3 separate regions of the Homo sapiens genome follow, and all the other regions are linked to region 3. The links are contacts of gene promoters, found by promoter capture Hi-C in blood cells and fetal thymus (Javierre and others, 2016). All regions are on one chromosome and are shown on one strand. Each heading gives the region's core, a stretch centred on a gene start or on the middle of the fragment in contact. The rest is flanking DNA. Distances are from core to core; before and after follow the strand shown.

Region 1 (3,654 bases), core at 1-2,500, 390 kb before region 3:
CTGCCTCTCCCACTCACTTGATTTGTGACTCCAGGGAAGGACCCACCCTCTCTATCCTCAATTTCTGTCTCTGTAAGTCAAATTTCCCTTCAATTGGAAAGGTTCTGTGTTCCCACTTTGCTCTGGCCACTAGGAAACTCACAATCAAACATATGTCTCGTTTTATTCTGCATCAAGACAACAGTTGCCTGATCCCTCCTCCCCACCCAATCACACACCTTCCGGCCTGTCCTTCATGGCAGAAGCACCACCTTGAGCTCTCTGGGCCCCCCGACTCCTTACCTCCAGCTCTGTCTCAGCGCCGTGCCCCTCGCTTCTTCCTCTCTGAATTCTGCAGCTTGGTCACCAGTTTCCTCTCGTGCCCGCCAGGGCTGGGGCGGTTGGTGTTGGCAGCAGCTTCTCTCTTGGTGCGACCTTTCCGGCCTCCACCTCCTGTAACCAAGGCAGGAGTCAGAGGTGAAGTGGGCATAGGCATGATGAGAGGCCCTGTCAGAGGAGAGGCAGGGGTTCAGGGTTGTGGGGATGGGAAGAGCAGGGAGAAGCCTGCTGCTTCCCCTCTGTGGAATGTGGGACCCCAGATGTGTGTGAGGTCCCAGGCTGAGTAACATAGCACTCCTGGGATAAGGGATTAGACAGGGGTGACGTGAGGGTCCAAGGAACAGGTTGGCTAGAAAAGGGTGAGTGGGCTGGGCAGGGTGGCTCACTCCTGTAATCTCAGCACTTTGGGAGGCCAAGGCAGGAGAATTGCTTGAGCCCAGGAATTTGGGATCAGCCTGGGAAACATAGTGAGACCCCATCTCACCACTGCAGGTGGTGTACACCTGAAGTTCCAGCCACTCAGGAGGCTGAAGCAGGAGGATCACTTGAGCCCAGGAGTTCGAGGCTGCGGTGAGTTGTTTGAGTTGTTGTGATCACACTACTGCACTCCAGCCTGGGTGACAGAGTGACTCTCTCAAAAAAAAAGAAAGAAAGAAACGAAGAGGAAAGGAAAGGAAATGAGAGGAAACAAGAGGGGTGGGTCCTGATTTCGGGAGAGGAGGAAGGACCGTGGAGATGGCTGAGTGGGCCTTACCGAGGTAGGAATGGGCCAGGCTATAGAGGTCAGATTCATCCAGGCTGGAGTCCTCGTCCTCCGGGCCTGGGGGCTGCTGGGGGGCGCTGGTTGCTGGTGGGAAGGTGGCCATCGTGCCTGGCTTGTCTTCCCTGCCTCTCTTCTTCTCCTAACGCTTTGTCTGTCTCTGCTTTCCTGGCCCCGGGCCTCTCCACTCCCTCAGCTTATAAGGCTGTGTCTCCTCCTCAGACCACAGTCTGGCTCCAGCCCATCAGGCCCTGTCTGATGCAATCTGGCCCCTTCCCAAAATCCAGCCCAGTAAACACAGTCATGAGACGGGAAGAGTCGGTCCCTGAGTCCAGCCCAACTCACCTCCTCCCTCCCAGGCTCACCCAGCTGGATATTTTCCATAGAGGAGGTCCCGCTTCTCGGCAGAAAGCAGGGAAGAGGCAGGATCTGGGCTAAAACACTCGTTGGGATCATGGCCTCACCTGATCGAGGGCTTCACCTGGGCCTGGGATGACGGCCACACAGCTAACCCCGGCACCCCAATTCTCGCTGAGATGCAGGACGTGAGGAAGGAGGGGGAAGGGATATCAGCACACTTGTGCCAGGGACAAGTCAGTGGCTTCCACCCAGTCACACTCAACATCTTGCTTGTCTTCTTTTTTTTTTTTGAAATGGAGTCTCTGTCGCCCGGCTGGAGTGCAGTGGTGTGATCTTGGCTCACTGCAACCTGCAACCTCCTCCTCCCAGGTTCAAGCAATTCTCCTGGCTCAGCCTCCCGAATAGCTGGGATTATAGACATCTGCCACCATGCCTGGCTAATTTTTGTATTTTTAGTAGAGATGGGGTTTCACCATGTTGGACAGGCTGATCTTGAACTCCTGACCTCAAGTCATCTGCCTGCCTCGGCCTCCCAAAGTGCTGGGATTACAGGCATGAGCCACACCCTTTTTTTTCTTTTTTCTATGAGAAACATCTTGGAAAACCCCTTAATATCCTGAAACAGGGTCCCCAGTAATGTAATCTCCCTCACCTAGGAGGAGGGTGGCAGAGGGTTGGAGAGTTCAGGGTCTGGAGCCAGTTGCCCTCAGTTCAATCCCCTGACCCACCACTTTCCGTGTGACCTTGGGCGAGTCCCTTCACCTCTCTGTGCCTTGGTTTCCAATTCTGTAAAATAAGGATGATAATAATTGTATCTTCTTCCTAGAGTTGGGGAGAGGATCAAATGAGATAATGTTTGAAAGACACATGCTACAGTGCCCGGTGACAGAGGGAGACCCTGTCTCAAAAACAAATTATAATAAAATAATATGTATTTCAAAATATGGATGTACTGAGGCAGAAGACACAATGAGGCCGAGCGTGGTGGCTTATGCCTGTAGTCCCAGCACTTTGGGAGATCCACAAAGTGGGTGGATCACCTGAGGTCAGGAGTTCAAGACCAGCCTGGCCAACATGGCGAAATCCCATCTCTACTAAAAATACAAAAATTAGCCTGGTGTGGTGGCAAGTGCCTGTAATCCCAGCTACTCAGGAGGCTGAGGCAGGAGAATCGCTTGAACCTGGGAGGGAGAGGTTGTGGTGAGCTGAGATCGAGCCACTGCACTCCAGCCTCAGCAACAGAATGAGACTGTGTCTGAAAACAAAAACAAAAACACAAAAAGCTGAACTTCTGCTTGTGTTTCTCCCTTGCCTGAGCCGGAATTGAATTTAGCCTTTGTTTTCCCAGATTTGGATGATGTATGAGTTCCTTAACACCCAGGAAATGAAAGTGAAGACAGGATACTTGAATGAAAACAGGATTGGGCCAATAATAACAGACCAGGTGATCAGAGAAAGAGGAAAATAATCTTAAATTAAGCAAAGATTGGCCTAGTGCGGTAGCTCATGCCTGTAATTCCAGGGCTCTGGGAGGGTAAGCTGGGAGGATTGCTTGAAGCTGGGAGTTCAAGGCCAGCTTGGGCAATAGAGCAAGACTCCATCCTTTTTTTGTTGGTTTGTTTGTTTTTGTTTTGAGACAGAGTCTCACTCTGTCACCAGGCTGGAGTGCAGTGGTATGATCTCGGCTCACTGCAACCTCCGCCTCCTGGGTTCAAGTGATTCTCCTGCCTCAGCCTCCTGAGTAGCTGGGATTACAGGCTTGTGCCACCACGCCCGGCTAATTTTTATATTTTTAGTAGAGACGGGGTTTCACCACGTTGGCCAGGCTGGTCTCGAACTCCTGACCTCAGGTGATCTGCCCGCCTCGGCCTCCCAAAGTGCTGGGATTACAGGCGTGAGCCACCTGGCCAGTATCTTTTTTATTTGTTTGCTTTACCATTATTTGTCCCCACTGGCATGCAACCGTTGGTTTAGTTTAGTTAATGGTTAAAGGAGTAGGCTCTGGAACAGGGCTTCTCAGGTCTAAAGCTTGGTTCTGCCCCCTAGTTAGCTGTGTGCTCTTAGACAAGCTTAGTCTGCATGTTTGTTTACTCGTCTATACAGTGGGATTAATGGCACCTAGGCTGGATAAGGTGAGGCACACCTGCAATCCCACTGTTTTGAAAGGCTGAGGTGGAAGGATCACTTGAGGTCAGGAGTTTGAGGCTGCGGTGAGC
Region 2 (3,627 bases), core at 138-2,637, 360 kb before region 3:
CAGAAGGTAGGAGGACATAGAGTTGAAGAAGGTTGTTCAGAAACCTTGAGATTGAATGGGGTTTGCTCTGTTGGGTTTTGGACTTACCTGGGACCTATTACCCCTTTCTTCTTTGTTGTTTCTCTCTTTTAGAATGTCTGTCCTATGCCTGTCCCACCGTTGTATTTTACAAGCACATAACACGTTTGATTTCACAGGCTCACAGATGGTGGGGAATTTGCCCCAGGATGAATTGTACTTTGAGTCTCACCCATACCTGATTGATTGATTGATTTTTTTAAATTTTATTTATTTATTTATTTATTTATTTATTTATTTATTTATTTATTTAGCGAGAGAGTGAGCCTCACTCTGTCACCCAGGCTGGAGTGCACTGGTGGGATCTCGGCTCACTGCAACCTCTGCCTCCCAGGTTTAAGTGATTCTCCTGCCTCAGCTTCCTGAGTAGCTGAATTACAGGTGCCTGCCATCATGCCCAGCTAATTTTTGTATTTTTAGTAGAGACAGGGTTTCACCATGTTGGCCAGGCTGGTCTTGAACTCCTGACCTCAAGTGATTCGCCCACCTTGGTTTCCCAGAGTGTGGGATTACAGGCATGATACACCACACCCAGCCACCCATATCTGATTTAGATGATAGATGAGACTCTGGACTTTAGACTTTTGAGTTGATGCTAGAATGAGTTTCTATTTGGGGCCATTGGGGTGGACTGAATGTATTTTGCAAGTAAAAAGGACATGACTTTTGGGGGTTCAGGAGCCAAATGCTGTGGTCTGAGTGTTTGTGTTCCCCTAAAATTCATATGTTGAAACTTGATCCCCAACATGGTGGGGCCTTTGGGAAGTGATTAGGCTGTGAGGATTCCACTCTCAAGAATGGGGTTAGCGCCCTTATGAAAGAGGCCTGAGGGACTTGTGTTGCCCCTTCTGCCATGTTGAGAATGCAGTGAGAAGGCACCATCTTTGAAGCGGAGAGCGATGCCGAATCTACTGGGGCCTGGATCTTGTACTTTCCGGCCTTCAGAACTGTGAGCAATAAATTTCTGTTGTTGGCCAGGCATGGTGGCTCACGCCTGTAATCTCAGCACATTGGGAAGCCGAGGCAGGTGGATCACCTGAGGTCAGGAGTTCGAGACCAGCCTGGCCAACAAAGCAAAACCCCGTCTCTACTAAAAATACAAAATTAGCTGGGCGTGGTGGCAGACACCTGTAATCCCAGCTACTTGGGAGGTTGAGGCAGGAGAATCGCTTGAACCAGGGAGGTGGAAGTTTCAGTGAGCCAAGATCACGCCACTGCACTCCAGCCTGGCGACAGAACTAGACTCCGCCTTAAAAAAAAAAAAAAAAAAGATTCTGAATCTTTGGGAAGCCCTCTGGGCTGGGGATCGATTTGGGAGTCAGTACCATGTGGTTCATAGTTGACGCGGTAGCTTGCAGAAGCCAAGGAAAGCCTACGCTTTCAAAAAAAGTTTGGAAGAGTCAATGTAAGGAAATCCAAAGTGGACCTAACTGTGGAGATGGGGGTCAGGGAAGGAGAGAGCTGGGGTGTGAAGTAGTGAAAATTAGAAAAGTGCCTGCTAAGTCCCTGACGCTACTAATGAGTGGTGATTGATTGATGAAAGCAGAGATTTCCGTTCTTGCCTGAGAGCTTCTAGTCTGTTGGGGAAGAAAAGATACACCAATAGCAGCTGGCTAGAAGGCCAGTTTCTTCTTTTTTTATTTTTATTTTTATTTTTTGAGACGGAGTCTCGCACTGTTGCCCGGACTGGAGTGCAGTGGCACAATCTCGGCTCACTGCAAGCTCTGCCTCCCGGGTTCACGCCATTCTGCCTCAGCCTCCCGAGTAGCTGGGACCACAGGCACCCACCACCACGCCCGGCTAATTTTTAGTATTTTTAGTGGAGATGGGGTTTCACTGTGTTAGCCAGGATTGTCTCAATCTCCTGACCTTGTGATCCACCTGCCTCAGCCTCCCTAAGTGCTGGGATTACAGGCGTGAGCCACTGCGCCCGGCCCTTTTGTATTTTTCTTGAGACGGAGCTCTTGTTGCCCAGGCTGGAGTGCAGTGGCACGATCTCGGCTCACTGCAACATCCGCCTGCTGGGTTCAAGCAGCTCTCCTGCCTCAGCCTCCGAGTAGCTGGGATTACAGGCACCGGCCACCACGCCTGGCTAACTTTTGTATTTTCAGTAGATACAGGGTTTCACCATGTTGGCCAGGCTGGTCTCAAACTCCTGACCTCAGGTAATCCGCCTGCCTCGGCTTCCCAAAGTGCTGGTATTACAGGCGTGAGCCACTGCGCCCGGTAGAAGGCCAGTTTCTAAAGGCGTGTTGCAGAGTCCATGTCAGTTCTAGGAAGAATCAAGCAAGAGAAAAGTGTGCTTCTTTAGGACTGGTCAGGCAAGCGCAGCCTTGAGCCAGAAGGGAAAGGGCTTTGCAGGTAGGAGTGGGCAGGCAGCAAGATCGTGTGTCTGAGACAGTGTAGAGGGAACAGGCCAGAAGGAATGTCAGCTGAGCCGGGGAGGTGTCGCTGGGTATGATCCAGTGCTAGAGCCTGTCTCTCGCTGCGCCTGCCTCCTCTCACACAGCCCCCTCTTCTGTCCCTGGCTTCTCAGCATGAAACTCCCCCCAGCCACGTGTTCACATTCCTCCGTGTCACTTTCCTCCATTCAGCACCCCCCATACCCCTTCTTGCTCGCTGGCCTCCCAGCTGTACTCCCAGACAGAGTAACCTACATTTGCTTCCTGCATTTGCCTCCCCCTCCTGTGTGTTGGCTTCTGTCTCTTCCACGGAAAATGTTTTCCCCAAGGTCCTCAGTGACTTCCTCAGCTTTGGGAGACCCCTCTGAGTCCTCTTCTGTGGCATTTGGTGCTGTTTATCATCCCTTCTGTGACTTTCTTTTGACGGATGTACAGATTGGGAGATGGCACTACACAGCTGGGAAGTGGGGGTGAGGACCTGGGGGGGTGTAAGAGATAGCCAGGCTCCAGCCCAGAGGAGGAGCTGGAGGTGGGTGGCCGGCGAACTGCCAGGAGGGAGGCCCTGAAGCCAGAGGAGAAGGGAGTAGCATCATGTCAAGATCAGTAGGCCACATCGGAAGCAGCAGAGAGGGCCCTCACGCTTCCCCTGCAGGGGCTGTTGACTCTCTTGATGAGAGACTGATGAGGACAGAGCTAGAGAAGTGGGTTGGAAAGTGAAGTGGGGACAAGGAAGCAGCACCGGATCCCTGCACAATTTAGGGAAGAAGTTTTGCCGTGAAGAGGAACAGAGGTGGGGGCCTCTAAAGGGGTTTGGAAGCTCTTTTGTGTTTTTTCAGGATGAACTCTCCTCAATCATGCTTGTTCACTGGTAGAGGAGAAAGGATTCGCTGACAGTCGGAGGGGAGATGGAGTTCAGAACACAAATGAAGACTGTTTTTCCCTCTTTAGGGTGAAGGCAGAGGTGACAGGCATTGCTATACAGAGCTTGTAGTTTTGATGGTGGGCATAAAGTCTCTGGCTTCCCTTCCGAGTGAAGTAGGAACCTCAGATATCAGCTAATAGGACCCAGGCCTGGGTCTGAGGGCAGTATCAAGGATATTGAGGAGAGAGGAGGTTTGAAGTGTGCTAAGGGAAGGCTAACCAGATG
Region 3 (3,416 bases), core at 698-3,197:
CTCAGCCTCCCAAGTAGCTGGGACCACAGGCATGTGCCACCACACCCAGCTAATTTTTTGTATTTTTGGTAGAGATGGGTTTTGCCATATTGCCCAGGCTGGTCTCCAACTCCTGAGCACAAGCAATCTGCCTGCCTTGGCCCCACAAAGTGCTGGGAGGTGTGAGTCACCTCGCCTGGCCTGAGATATATTTTTTTAAATAATAATATATAGATTTTTGAAGCACTGGGGGGCACAGGGAAGGCCTCTTTGAAGAAGTACCATTTGAACTGAGACCTAAGTGATGAAAAGAACCAGTCCAGCAAAGAACCAGAGCCCCCAGCAGAGATCCAGGAAAAAGGGCTGCAAGTGCAAGGGCCCTGAGGCAGGGAAGCACTTGGCAAGGAGAGTGGTGGAGGCACGAGGTGGAAAATGTAGGTAGGTCAGCAACACTCGGCCTACTAGGCCTTGGGTTGGAGTTTTTATTTTAGCTAGATGAAAAGCAACTGACATTTTTTGTTTTTTAAAAAATTTCTATAGAGATGGGTTCTCGCTGTGTTGCACAGGCTGGTCTCAAATTCCTGTCCTCAAAGGATCCTCTCGCCTCGGCCTCCTAAAGTATTGGGATTACAGGCATGAGCCTCTGTGCCTGGCTGTAACTGACATGTTTTAAGCAGGGGAATGACATGCTCTAGTGAAAGCCAGTCTGGGCAGCTGGGTAGCTAATGAGGGGATTAGAGAGATTTTGTTGAATGAAAGGCAGATTGAGTCCTGCTACTCGCCCCCTTCATTCCCCTTCATTCATGCCTCATTCTTCCGCCTCCCAGCCGCCTCAACTGGCCAAAGGGAAGTGGAGGCCCTGCCACCTGTAGGGAGGGTCCCCTGGGGCTTGCCCACAGCAAACAGGAAGTCACAGCCTGGTGAGATGGGCCTGGGAATCAGCCACTGAGAAAGTGGGTCTCTTGGGTCCCTGAATTCTTTTTCTGAGTCCCTGCAGCAGTGAAAAAGACACAGAGGCACATAGAGAGTGACAGAGAAAGAGAGAGACAGAGAGGAGAGGCATGGGGCAGAATAAGAACAGATTTAGGAGTTAGAACTCCTGGGTTCTTTTAAAACAATTTTTCTTTTAGAGACAGGGTCTTGTTGTGTTGCCCGGACTGGAGCACAGTGGCTATTCCCAGGCATAATCATGGTGCACTGCAGCCTTGAACTCCTGGGCTCAAGCGATCCTTCTACCTCAGCCTCCCAAGGACCTGGGACCATAGGCGTGTACCACTGTGCCTGGCTTTTGCCTGGTTTTAAACTGAGGCAGTATGACTTGAGCTCTTAGGCATTAATTGAAGCTGTATCTCATTAACTGAGGGCTTATGATGTGCTGGACACTGGGCTAATAGTGCTGAACATATTGTCATTTTTAATCTTCACAAACAATATTTGTATAGGACTGTTTTCTTTTCTTTTTTTTTTTTGAAACAGAGTCTCACTCTGGTGCCCAGGCTGGAGTGCAGTGGTGTGATCTCGGCTCACTGCAACCTCCGCCTCCTGGTTTCCAGTGATTCTCCTGCCTCAGCCTCCTAAGTAGCTGGGATTACAGGTGTGCGCCACCATGCCCGGCTAATTTTTTTTTTTTTTTTTGAGAAGGAGTCTATGTGCCCAGCATTGTTCTAGAGCACTTGCAATTAGTGGTGAACAACACGGTCTCTACTCCAAGGGGCTCACATTCTTGTGCAGAAAACAGAAATGAACAAATAAACACACAAGATCATTTCCCGTGGTAGTGAGAGCTGGGATGAAAATAAAACAGCGTGGCAGGGAGGAGGCAAGTGTTGTGAGTCTGGAGGGTTCCTGGAGAATGGGGCCTGAGGCGTGACCACCGCCTTCCTCTCTGGGGGGACTGCCTGCCGCCCCCGCAGACACCCATGGTTGAGTGCCCTCCAGGCCCCTGCCTGCCCCAGCATCCCCTGCGCGAAGCTGGGTGCCCCGGAGAGTCTGACCACCATGCCACCTCCTCGCCTCCTCTTCTTCCTCCTCTTCCTCACCCCCATGGAAGTCAGGCCCGAGGAACCTCTAGTGGTGAAGGTGGAAGGTATGTCCAAAGGGCAGAAAGGGAAGGGATTGAGGCTGGAAACTTGAGTTGTGGCTGGGTGTCCTTGGCTGAGTAACTTACCCTCTCTGAGCCTCCATTTTCTTATTTGTAAAATTCAGGAAAGGGTTGGAAGGACTCTGCCGGCTCCTCCACTCCCAGCTTTTGGAGTCCTCTGCTCTATAACCTGGTGTGAGGAGTCGGGGGGCTTGGAGGTCCCCCCCACCCATGCCCACACCTCTCTCCCTCTCTCTCCACAGAGGGAGATAACGCTGTGCTGCAGTGCCTCAAGGGGACCTCAGATGGCCCCACTCAGCAGCTGACCTGGTCTCGGGAGTCCCCGCTTAAACCCTTCTTAAAACTCAGCCTGGGGCTGCCAGGCCTGGGAATCCACATGAGGCCCCTGGCCATCTGGCTTTTCATCTTCAACGTCTCTCAACAGATGGGGGGCTTCTACCTGTGCCAGCCGGGGCCCCCCTCTGAGAAGGCCTGGCAGCCTGGCTGGACAGTCAATGTGGAGGGCAGCGGTGAGGGCCGGGCTGGGGCAGGGGCAGGAGGAGAGAAGGGAGGCCACCATGGACAGAAGAGGTCCGCGGCCACAATGGAGCTGGAGAGAGGGGCTGGAGGGATTGAGGGCGAAACTCGGAGCTAGGTGGGCAGACTCCTGGGGCTTCGTGGCTTCAGTATGAGCTGCTTCCTGTCCCTCTACCTCTCACTGTCTTCTCTCTCTCTGCGGGTCTTTGTCTCTATTTATCTCTGTCTTTGAGTCTCTATCTCTCTCCCTCTCCTGGGTGTCTCTGCATTTGGTTCTGGGTCTCTTCCCAGGGGAGCTGTTCCGGTGGAATGTTTCGGACCTAGGTGGCCTGGGCTGTGGCCTGAAGAACAGGTCCTCAGAGGGCCCCAGCTCCCCTTCCGGGAAGCTCATGAGCCCCAAGCTGTATGTGTGGGCCAAAGACCGCCCTGAGATCTGGGAGGGAGAGCCTCCGTGTCTCCCACCGAGGGACAGCCTGAACCAGAGCCTCAGCCAGGGTATGGTGATGACTGGGGAGATGCCGGGAAGCGGGGGTCCAGAGACAGAGGGGAGGGGAAACTGAAGAGGTGAAACCCTGAGGATCAGGCTTTCCTTGTCTTATCTCTCCCTGTCCCAGACCTCACCATGGCCCCTGGCTCCACACTCTGGCTGTCCTGTGGGGTACCCCCTGACTCTGTGTCCAGGGGCCCCCTCTCCTGGACCCATGTGCACCCCAAGGGGCCTAAGTCATTGCTGAGCCTAGAGCTGAAGGACGATCGCCCGGCCAGAGATATGTGGGTAATGGAGACGGGTCTGTTGTTGCCCCGGGCCACAGCTCAAGAC

The links. Contacts are between HindIII fragments. The CHiCAGO score rates a contact against its expected background, and 5 or more counts as called.
Region 1: the fragment with the promoter of NUPR1 here is called in contact with the fragment with the promoter of CD19 in region 3 in 9 of 17 cell types (fetal thymus, erythroblasts, non-activated CD4 T cells and 6 more); the score reaches 8.7 in fetal thymus.
Region 2: a fragment that was not itself captured here is called in contact with the fragment with the promoter of CD19 in region 3 in 1 of 17 cell types (total CD8 T cells); the score reaches 5.2 in total CD8 T cells.

Annotation. Positions count from the first base shown.
Region 1 is chr16:28,537,724-28,541,377 of GRCh38, forward strand. It overlaps NUPR1 (nuclear protein 1, transcriptional regulator), which reads right to left and starts at 1,251. Exons shown (of 3, transcript NM_012385.3): 1 at 1,073-1,251; 2 at 283-432. The coding sequence starts at 1,184. The coding sequence ends at 296. RefSeq lists an enhancer at 45-1,244. The HindIII fragment of the contact is 7,417 bases long and covers 1-3,464 here.
Region 2 is chr16:28,570,262-28,573,888 of GRCh38, forward strand. The region is part of intron 1 of SGF29 (SAGA complex associated factor 29); the gene reads left to right. Among named protein-coding and RNA genes, the nearest start is that of SGF29, 18 kb to the left of the region's middle. The HindIII fragment of the contact is 5,033 bases long and covers 1-3,627 here.
Region 3 is chr16:28,930,024-28,933,439 of GRCh38, forward strand. It overlaps CD19 (CD19 molecule), which reads left to right and starts at 1,948. Exons shown (of 15, transcript NM_001770.6): 1 at 1,948-2,065; 2 at 2,323-2,589; 3 at 2,888-3,091; 4 at 3,211-3,416. The coding sequence starts at 1,978. The HindIII fragment of the contact is 16,330 bases long and covers 1-3,416 here.